Linked DNA regions of Homo sapiens: region 1 is linked to region 2. The links are contacts of gene promoters, found by promoter capture Hi-C in blood cells and fetal thymus (Javierre and others, 2016). All regions are on one chromosome and are shown on one strand. The core of a region is centred on a gene start or on the middle of the fragment in contact, and the rest is flanking DNA. Distances in the headings are between cores, read along the strand shown.

Region 1 (4,517 bases), core at 951-3,450, 70 kb before region 2:
TGCTTGAACCCGGGAGGTGGAGGTTGCAGTGAGCTGAGATTGTGCCACTGCACTCCAGCCTGGGTGAGAGCAAGACTCCCTCTCAAAAAGAAAAACAAAAGGCGGGGGGAGGGGAGAAGCATGAATAATCCACCCTTTGTTTAGCACATCATCAGGAAATAACCATAAAAATGGGCAACCAGCAACCCTTGGTGCTGTGCTGTCTATGGAGTAGTCATTCTTTTTATTCCTCTACTGTCTTAATAAACTTTTTACTCTATGGACTCGCCCTGAATTATTTCTTGTGCGAGATCCAAGAACCCTCTCCTGAGGTCTGGGTCAGGACCCCTTTCCTGTAACAACATGGTCCTATCCCAGCTCCCTGTCTGATGTCACCTCACTCTGTTCCAGACTGACTCTTCTCCACCAAACACACCAAGCACACTCCCGCTCCAGGACCTTTGCAGTGGCTCTTCTGCTTGCAAGTCTTCTCCCCACAACCACGTGGCTCATTACCTCCTTTTCTTTGCCAAAAGAACTGCCCCAGCAAAGAGGCCTTTCCTAATAACTTTATGTAAAACAACACCTCGTCCCTTCATGCTTTGTCTGTAATGTGCTTTACTTTTCTTCATAGCACTAATCACCACCTGACATCATTTATATTTATTTGTTCACTTATCTTCTGTCTCCTTCACTAGAATCTGAGCTCCATGGGGGCAGGGATTCTTGTCCATGTTGTTTACTACTGTACCTCCGGTGCCGGCACATAGTAGGTGTTCAATAGGTATTTATGGGATGGATGACTCAAACCTTTCAGTGAATAAACAGTTCAGTGTTCTCATCAATCCATCCTGGTGCCCACCAAGCTAATAATATCACGGTAACAATGGCAGCTAATTTTACAGGAGCATTTCCTATGGGCCAGACCTTAGAAACGTTATCTCCTTACACAGGGCACTGCATTCACGCCTAGAACACTGAAATTTAGGTATAATCATGAGCTCAGAGGTCAGGCGACTTGCTCGAGGTCATAGGGGACGGCATCAGAAGAGGAACACAGACATTTAGCCTGACGGCAGAACTGTGTTCTAAAACCTCAAAGTCATAATTTGCCACACGCTGGAGAAAGAAAACAGTCGAAATGGAAGCCACCTGGCGAGCTCAGGGCGCCAGGTGGGAGCGCTGCTTCCCACATATGGGAGTCCGGCCCCATCGCTCTTTGATCTTTGCAGCGTCCGTGGCCCCACCGACCCCGTCGTGAGTTATGGGAGGCACGGGACCCATAACCCAGCATTCTCAGACTCCCAGGGTCGTCAGGACACGGCGCCCCGCGCGGTGATGGATGAGCCGGCCCCAGCGCTGGCTTTGTCCGGGTTGGGCCGGTCTGAGAAGCTTCAGGCCGGCTTTGGACGGGGCGTGGCGAGAGCCGCGCCGCGTGTGAGTGTGTGTGTGTGTGTGTTTGTGTGTGTGTGTATTGGGGCGGTTGTCTTTCTCCCTTCCCTACCGGGAAAGAGGGCACAGGTGCGCCGTCAGCGCCCCAGGTGAGCTGGTAGCACTTTGAAGACCCTTTGTACCCCTACATCCAGGAGCGACCTCTCGGAGAACCCCGCCTGCCCACTCTGCGCACTTTCTGCGGCTACAAAGGCCCCGCCGTTCCCCGTCCCGCCTCCCCCGCCCTGGGCATTTCTTCCGTCCCTTTTGACAGTCTAGGCGGAATAATCCTTTTGTGGCCCCGGGCCCCTGCCCTGACAGACGCGGCCGCAGCTGAGCGCGCAGCCTCGCTCCATTGTTGGGGTCCACCGAGGACCGCCCGCCGCGGCCCTTTGTCGCCCGCCCTGCGCGGGGCCGCTCCAGAGGCGCCACAACTGCCGGAGCCCCTCCCGTCCCACGCGCCCTGGGCCGCGCCGAGGCGGCTCTTACGCACCGGGAGGAGTGGGCCTGCCTCGCCCGGTGCCCGCACGGCTGCTGGGCTGCGCCCGCCTTTGTCTGCCTCCTTTGTCTGCCCCGCGCCCTCGCGGCGGCGGCGCCTAGGCCTCTGGGGAGCTGGCCCAGAACTCAGAGCGCAGCTGGCGAGGGCGCGCTGGCCGGGTGCGCGCCGGGCCCGGCCCCGGGGCTGCCCCTCGGCTGGGGGCAGTCGAGCCCGCCACCCGCCGCCCCTCCTCTGTCCCCTCCCCGCGCTCCCGCCCCCTTCCCTCCTGCCCGCCCACTCCCCCTTCCTTCCAGTCCCGCTCAGCCCGGGCACATCCTCCGGCTGCCCGCGCACCTCTCCACGCCGGCCCCGTTCCGCGGCTCGCCCTCGGCTGCGCTCGGCTCCCGCGGGCGCTCGGCCCCGAGCCCCTCCTCCCCCTACCCGCCGGCCGGACAGGTAAGGCACGGCCTCGGCCCGCCCCTGGCTCCGCCCCTCCCGCCCCACCTGGCTGCGAGCCCGGACAAAGGTGGGCTACCTGGCGCGCCCAGGGGCGGGGTGCGCGGGGTCCCGAGGCTGGAAGTGAGGATGCTGCCTCCTTCCCAGCCCTCGGACCCGTCTATCCGCCAGTCCTTCCGCCGCCTCCTCTCCTCGCCGCGTCTGCCCACGGACCCTGGCTCTGCTCCCGGGCTCCCCATCCGTCCACCTACCGCTGGACGCCCACTTTTCCACGCTCTGACACTCGGCCTCGCGCGCGCCCTCGCCGCCCTCTGGGGTCCCGGCTCGCACCTACTCTCCTCGGCACTAGCCTTCTCTCTCCCTGACCCAGTCTCCCTTTGTCTCTCTGTCTCTGAGTCTCCGGGTGGTCTCTCAGGCAGGGGGCCCCAGTCCGCCACCGTTGGAAGAAGTCTTCGAAGACTCCCTGAGCCCCGGGCAGAGCTGGCGGGCGTGCCCTCCAGCCCCTTTCGAGGCCGCCCAGGAGGCTGGGGTGTGTGGCCGGGGTCGCTGAGTGCGCCCGGAACCAGCACCGCCGGTGGCCCCGCGCCGTCCCATCTGTGCCCAGGAAGGTACTCAGCCTGGCTCCCCCGACGGCGCTGGTCTTTCGCCTGTGGTCTCCCGCTCTGTCCCTCCTGCTCCCCACCGCCGGCTTTTGGCTTTTCTCCGTCCGCTCGTCAAGGGTCTCAGCCGCCTTCGGGGCCGGGGTATGAGATGAGAGAGGGCTGGGGTTTCCCGCCAAGTCTTTCTTGCTTTCCTCAGCTGGGTGCTCCCTGGGCCATCCTCTCCGCCCGGTGGTCTCCCCTGCCCTATATGCTCCCTCCACGCTGCCCACCTCCCAGCCCAGTGACACACTGGTGTCTGGAACCGGTTCAGTACTATGCATCTGGAGTCGGGTACACTGGGGCTCTGGGAGTGATCTCGGACAAAGGAATGCACCTCTCTGAGCCTCAGTGTTCCTGTCACAAAACAGGGATGGTGCTAGTCCCTACCTATAGGGATGTGTGTGGAAATTGTGGGGTGCCGCTTGGTGCTGGTTCACACACCCTGTGGAGGAAGGGAGGGGAGGGGAGGGGAGTCTACAGACCTGGGATGGGGTGGGGACAGGGGGCTCCACAGAAATGGATCTCAAAGTCAAGGCTTAGAGACACTTCAGAGTAACCCCACCACCACAGCCTCTTCCCCCATCACACTTCCTGTCACCTTCACCTCCTCGTGCCCATACAGGCGTCCACACCCTTGCAAGCACTCTTCTCTTTCTCTCTCTCCTCCTCTTTGCTTGTCCTAAAATCAGCTAAAACAATCAGGGCCAATGGGTCACTTTTTTTCAAAATGAGATCAGTGTGGCTGAGCTGGTGTTGCCAACAACTGATCACCCATCAGAAGGCGTCCGGTGACTCACCCCCAATTCTGAACCTCAGTCTTGGCTTGATGCCTTTAATAGCGGCACCAGCTCACAGGCCACTTCCTTTCCTCTGAGGGGATTGTCTTGCTGGCTCCTGGACCTGCTGTGTGCTTGCCCAAGCCCCCTGACCACTGTCTAGGTGGTCATAACATGTGACACACCACTCCAGGAGTCTGGCAGTGACGTGGCCTGAGTGTCTTAATGAGGGCAACTTCAGAAGAGGGAAACCTCCCAGCTGGCAGGTTCCAGGCTCCCCTGGCTGAGTTCTTATTTCAGCCACAGCCAGGGCTGGCAACTGGAACCTTTCTCTTTAGAGGCAAGAACGGCTGGATATCCCCACGACATCCCCCATCCAGGCTCCTGCTCGAAATCCGACCTGGCAGACAGGCCCTACTTTGGTGAACCCGGCCCTTCATACCATCTCTACCCCCTGCCTTCTGCAGCAAAGCCAGCTCAGAGGCTTGGGAACCTTGCTCAGGTCCTCTCTGCTCTCTCCGCTGCCTTCCTCCCCACTATTCAATTCATCGCCCTCCCAGTCCATAGTCCTCAGTGGCTCACTGTGGCCACTCAGTTAACTACAGAGACCTCAGCCCAGCCTAGCCCTGTCCTGCCTGCCTCCCAGCATTGTCCCCTCTGCGTCCCAGGTTGCAGCCACGATGGAGAACTGACCATCTCCACAGTCTGCCCTCCTCTGAGCTTTTGCTAGGGCTCTTTCTGCCCTGCCCTGTGTTT
Region 2 (4,908 bases), core at 1,278-3,777:
ACTACAGGCACGCACCACCACTACCAAGCTAATTTTTATATTTTTAGTAGAGACGGGGTTTCGCCATGTTGGCCAGGCTGGTCTGGAACTCCTGACCTCAAGTGATCCACCCACCTTGGCCTCCCAAAGTACTGGGATTACAGGCGTGAGCCATTGCATCGGGCCTAACCATCCCCCTTTTACATATGAGGAACCTTAGGTTTAGAGAGGTTAGGGACTTGCCTAAGATCACACAGCAGCAGAAGGATTTTTTTTTTTTTTGAGACAGGGTCTCACTCTGTTGCCCAGGCTGGAGTGCAGTGACATGATCGTAGCTCACTGAAGCCTTGAACTCCTGGGCTCAAGCAATCTTACTGCCTCAGCCTCCCAAGTAGGTGGGACCACAGGTGTGCACCACCACAGCCGGATGATTTTTGTATTTTTTTTTGTAGTGATGAGGTCTTGCAATGTTGCCCAGGCTGGTCTTGAATTCCTGGGCTTATGAGAGCCTCCCACCTCAGCCTGCCCAAGTGCTGGGATTGCAGGTGTGAGCCACTGCGCCTGGCCAGCAGAAGGAGTTCATCACAGGTTTTCTGACTGAGTGCTCTTTCCTCTCCCAGCAGGTGCTTAGAAAGGAGAAAACATACAGTCTGGACAGAGGAAGGAGTGGGATGGCTGGGCACAGTGGGGAACAATGTGGGCAAAGGTTTGGGAGGTGGAAAGTGGACGGACCTTTGCAGCCTTGAAGGAAGTGTGATCGAGCTAGGCTGACGGCACGGCAAAGCTTGGGTATTAAGGTGGAGTCCAGCCAGTTTCTGAGGTGCCTGAAGGCTGGGAGAGTTTTTCTTTCTTTTTTTTCTTTTCTTTTCTTTCTTTTTTTCTTTTTTGAAACAGAATCTCACTCTGTCACCCAGGCTGGAGGGTAGTGGCATGATCACCACTCACTGCAACCTCCACCTCCCAGGTCCAAGCAATTCTCCTGCCTCAGCCTCCTGAATAGCTGGGATTACAGGTGCACACCATCACACCAGCTACTTTTTGTATTTTTAATAGAGATGGGATTTTGCCATGTTGGCCAGGCTGGTCTTGAACTCCTGACCTCAAGTGATCCGGCTGCCTCGGCCTCCCAAAGTGCTGGGATTACAGGCATGAGCCACCACATCCAGCCTTTTCTTTTCTTTTCTTTTTTTCTTTTTTTTTTTTTTTTTTTTTTGAGACAGAGTCTTGGTCTGTTGCTCAGGCTGGAGTGCAATGGCAGGATCTTGGCTCTCTGCAACCCTTGCCTCCCAGGTTCAAGTGATTCTCCTGCCTCAGCCTCCTGAGTAGCTGGGATTACAGGTGCCCGCCACCATGCCCGGCTAATTTTTGTATTTTTAGTAGAGACAGGGTTTCACCATGTTGGCCAGGCTGGTCTTGAACTCCTGATCTTGTGATCCGTCCACCTCAGCCTCCCAAAGTGCTGGGATTACAGGTGTGAGCCACTGTGCCTAGCCTTTCTTTCTTTCTTTCTTTTAACAAGAAATTTGTTATAGTTTTATTTTCCTTTGCATTTGCAAAATACTTAGGACCAACATGAAAAAGAAATACCTTCTATGGGGAAAAAAATGGCATTAAAAAGGAAGATGGGAAGGCTGAAAGGGATTTGTGCCTTAGTTGCAAGGAGCTGCAGCATCTCTGGTCCAAGGAATCAAAAAGATATTGGGAAGATATAACAGGAGGAAGAAGAATGTGAATTTACTGAGGGAGAGGGCCCCAAAGTGGGCCTTGAGGGGGAACTGGAGGCCCCGGAGTGGGTCTGGGTGGAGGGAGAGTCCCCCCCGGAAGCCATAGGGTGGGTGTTGGGGAGGGCCAGTGTATCCATGAGGCAGCATCGGTGGAGGAGGTCCACACATACCATGGAGGCATAGGACGTGAGTGACCCATGGGAGATCCAGACCGAGACCCCTTGGGGGACATGCTCATTGGAGGAGGTCCAGGATGAGGCATTCCAGGTGGTGATCAGGGTGGTGGCTGCCCCCCAGATCCTGGGGTCCCATCACGGGTGTGTCCTCAGCCATGAGGGCCATGGTTTGCCAGCTGCATCTGAGACATCCCTGGATGGGACATCGCACCTATTGGGAACGGGTGAGGATGTGAGTGTCCATGACCCGGATGTCCTGCCCCTGGGGTTCCTACCAGTGGGAGCCGGGGGCATGTCCTGCAGCCCCAAGAGGCATAGGTGGTGGGGACATGGCTGGGGGTATCCCAGATGTGCGGGGGCTCCAGGAGGCAGCTCTAGGTGCGGGAAGGAGCCAAGAGGAGGCACGCCTGGTGGAGGAAGCCCAGACCCCAGTGATGCTGCCACAGGATTCGGGGCAGAGGGTGGAGGAGGTTCCCGGGGACCTGATGGCCAAGAGAATGTCGCTCATCTTGCACGTGCAAAAGTTGCCCTGGGACCACGTGCCTTGCCTGCGGAGGACCCGGCAAAACCTGTACCAGGACGTCGGTGGCCACGCCCACGGCTCAGGGCTGGGCGGGGCCAAGCGCGGGGCAGCACGCTCTGCTCTCCGACGTCCCCTCCCGCCCGCGACCTGCCGACCTGCGGGGATCGTTAGCGGTCCCAGCCCCCGTCTAGATTCAAATCCGACTGGGTGAAGGAGGACCCGAGGAGGACCCACGCACGTGAGGGCAGATCCATGAGGGCAGGAAACTGACCTCAGACTCTTTTGGTGGCAAGAGGAGGGAGGCTGTGAGCCCCCTTAAGTGGACAGGGGTGGGGGTGGAGTGGGAGGGGGGAGTCTGAGGGAGACGGACGAGGAGCGGAGAAATGGACCGAAGAGCTCCGGCGTGAGGGGCAGGGGTGCAGGAAGGTCTCCTGTGGATTGAGCGGCCTCAAGTCAACTTGGGCAAGAGGGGATGGTGGGGTGTTCTTGGTTAGGAGTCTGCGCTGTGGAGCCAGCCCTGGGGTGCTCCCTCTGAGGCCTTGGGTGGGACAGGCCCTTCTAAGCTCCTGTCCTCATTTCTAAAACAGGGAACCTAAGTCCCAGGGCTGCAGTGCAGATTAAATGGCAGGACGCCTGCTGAAGGCTGCAAGGTGCCTAGCACGGTTGTCATTTATTCAATGTGCATTTACAAGCCCCTGCTGGGGGTCAGGCATTGTTCTATGGGCTGCAAATCCAGCAGGGAAACAAACAAACAAAAAAAACCAGCCTGCCCTCGTGTGGCTCCTAGGCCACTGGAGGGAGAAATACACTAATTTCTTCACTATGTTAGGTGGCCGCAAGTGCAGGGCAAAGAGAGTGAGGAGAGGCCAGGTTGCTGCAGTTGGAGAGACAGTGGGCAGGGAGGGCTCACTGTGATGTGGGAGGCAAGACTTGAAGGCAGAGGGGACAGCAGCACAGAGGCGCTGAGGTGAGGTCGTGTGTGCCATTTGGAGGAGCAGCCAGGGGGCTGGTGTGTGTGGAGGACAGTGGGCAAGGGGAAGAGGAATTGGGGAGGACCATAACTGGCAGCCAGATTTTAAAGACTTTGCGGGGCTGGGTGTGGTGGCTCACGCCTGTAATCCCAGCACTTTGGGAGGCCGAGGCGGGCCAATCACCTGAGGTCAGGAGTTCGAGACCATCCTGGCCATCATGGTGAAACCCTGTCTCTACCAAAAAATAGAAAAATTAGTCTGGCGTGGTGGCATGTGCCTGTGGTTCCAGCTTGTTAGAGGCTGAGGTGGGAGGATCCCTTGAGCCCAGGGAGGCAGGCGGAGGTTGCAGTGAGCCGGGATCACGCCATTGTACCAGCCTGGGTGGCAAAGTGAGACTCCGGCTCAAAAAAAAAAAAAAAAAGGTTTTGCAGCCTAAGGTATCTTGCAGCTATTGAGCTCTGCTATTGCAGCTGGAAAGCAGACAGTCTGTAAACAAATGGGCTTTGTTTCAATATAACTTTATTCACATAATAGACCACTGGCCCAGGCAGTAATTTGCTAACCTCTGGCCTACAGCCTTGAAGGCTCACGGGGCATTGAGGGGGCTGGAGAGCTTCTGTGGCATTAGAGTTGAGGCAGGGCATGATTTGATTTCAGTGTTTACAGGATCACCCTGCCGCCGCATGAAGAGGAGGCTGTCGGGCGTGAGGACGAGGCAGAATAAGGGTGACCAGTTGGGAGGTGGCAGGTGAGGGCCACTCCGCCCAGTGCTCCAGGGGTCAGATCCTGGATGCGTGTGGGAGGCAGAGCCTGTCAGAGCAGCCACTGGTGTGAGGGAGAAGGGGAATCGGGGTGGCTCCAGGATTTTTGTTTGAGCCACCAGAAGGCCGGAGCTGCCATCCGTGGAAAAGGGGGGCACCAAGATGGGAGAGAGCTGGTTGCGAGGACGGCTGGAGTTCAGTTTTGGACATATTAATGCTGAGATGCCTGTTAGACATCCGGGTAGGCGTGGAGGAGGTCGCTGGACCTGCATGTTCAGACCTGTATGCAGATCAGCCGAGAGGTCTGGGGGGCAGGATGGGGCAGCATTTGACCTGGACACTTAATATGGAAAGGGGGGTGATAAGTAGGGCAGGGAGAGGAGCCACTGAGAGACCAGAACAGTGAGGGGCAGGCCCCAGGCAGCTGGGACCAGGCCAAGAGCAGCTAGGAGTACTGCTAAAGGGAGGAGGTAGGGATCAGAATGGGGTGGGGTTGAATGAGAGCCAGGGCAACCTGTCCTCTCCCCGCAGGGCCCATCTGATTAAACAGACCAGGCCACTCACTGTGGAGTGGACCAAGGATACTCCTGTCCCTGAGCCCATGGAGCTAAGGTCTGATGCCAGCCACAAGGAGAATGTGTCCCCAAAGCCTGCAGCGCTCCCGAAGCCAGGCAAGAGGCTTAGTGGGCCTGGATGGGCAGTTACAGGAGCAGGGCCCTCTCTAGGTATTGGCCCAGAGCCCCCCTCCCAGGCAGGCCAGCCTATAGGGCCTGG

What was found. The method cuts DNA at HindIII sites, captures the fragments that hold promoters and counts their contacts. A CHiCAGO score of 5 or more calls a contact.
Region 1: the fragment with the promoter of DRAXIN here is called in contact with the fragment with the promoter of C1orf167 in region 2 in 1 of 17 cell types (neutrophils); the score reaches 7.9 in neutrophils.

Annotation. Positions count from the first base shown.
Region 1 is chr1:11,689,510-11,694,026 of GRCh38, forward strand. It overlaps DRAXIN (dorsal inhibitory axon guidance protein), which reads left to right and starts at 2,201. Exons shown (of 7, transcript NM_198545.4): 1 at 2,201-2,344. It also overlaps a transcript of MAD2L2 not described here. RefSeq lists enhancers at 499-1,008, 1,009-1,516. The HindIII fragment of the contact is 12,625 bases long and covers 1,370-4,517 here.
Region 2 is chr1:11,759,666-11,764,573 of GRCh38, forward strand. C1orf167 (chromosome 1 open reading frame 167) reads left to right here and starts at 2,528. Exons shown (of 21, transcript NM_001010881.2): 1 at 2,528-2,640; 2 at 4,666-4,805. The coding sequence starts at 4,736. It also overlaps the pseudogene LOC101060126. The HindIII fragment of the contact is 5,648 bases long and covers 762-4,908 here.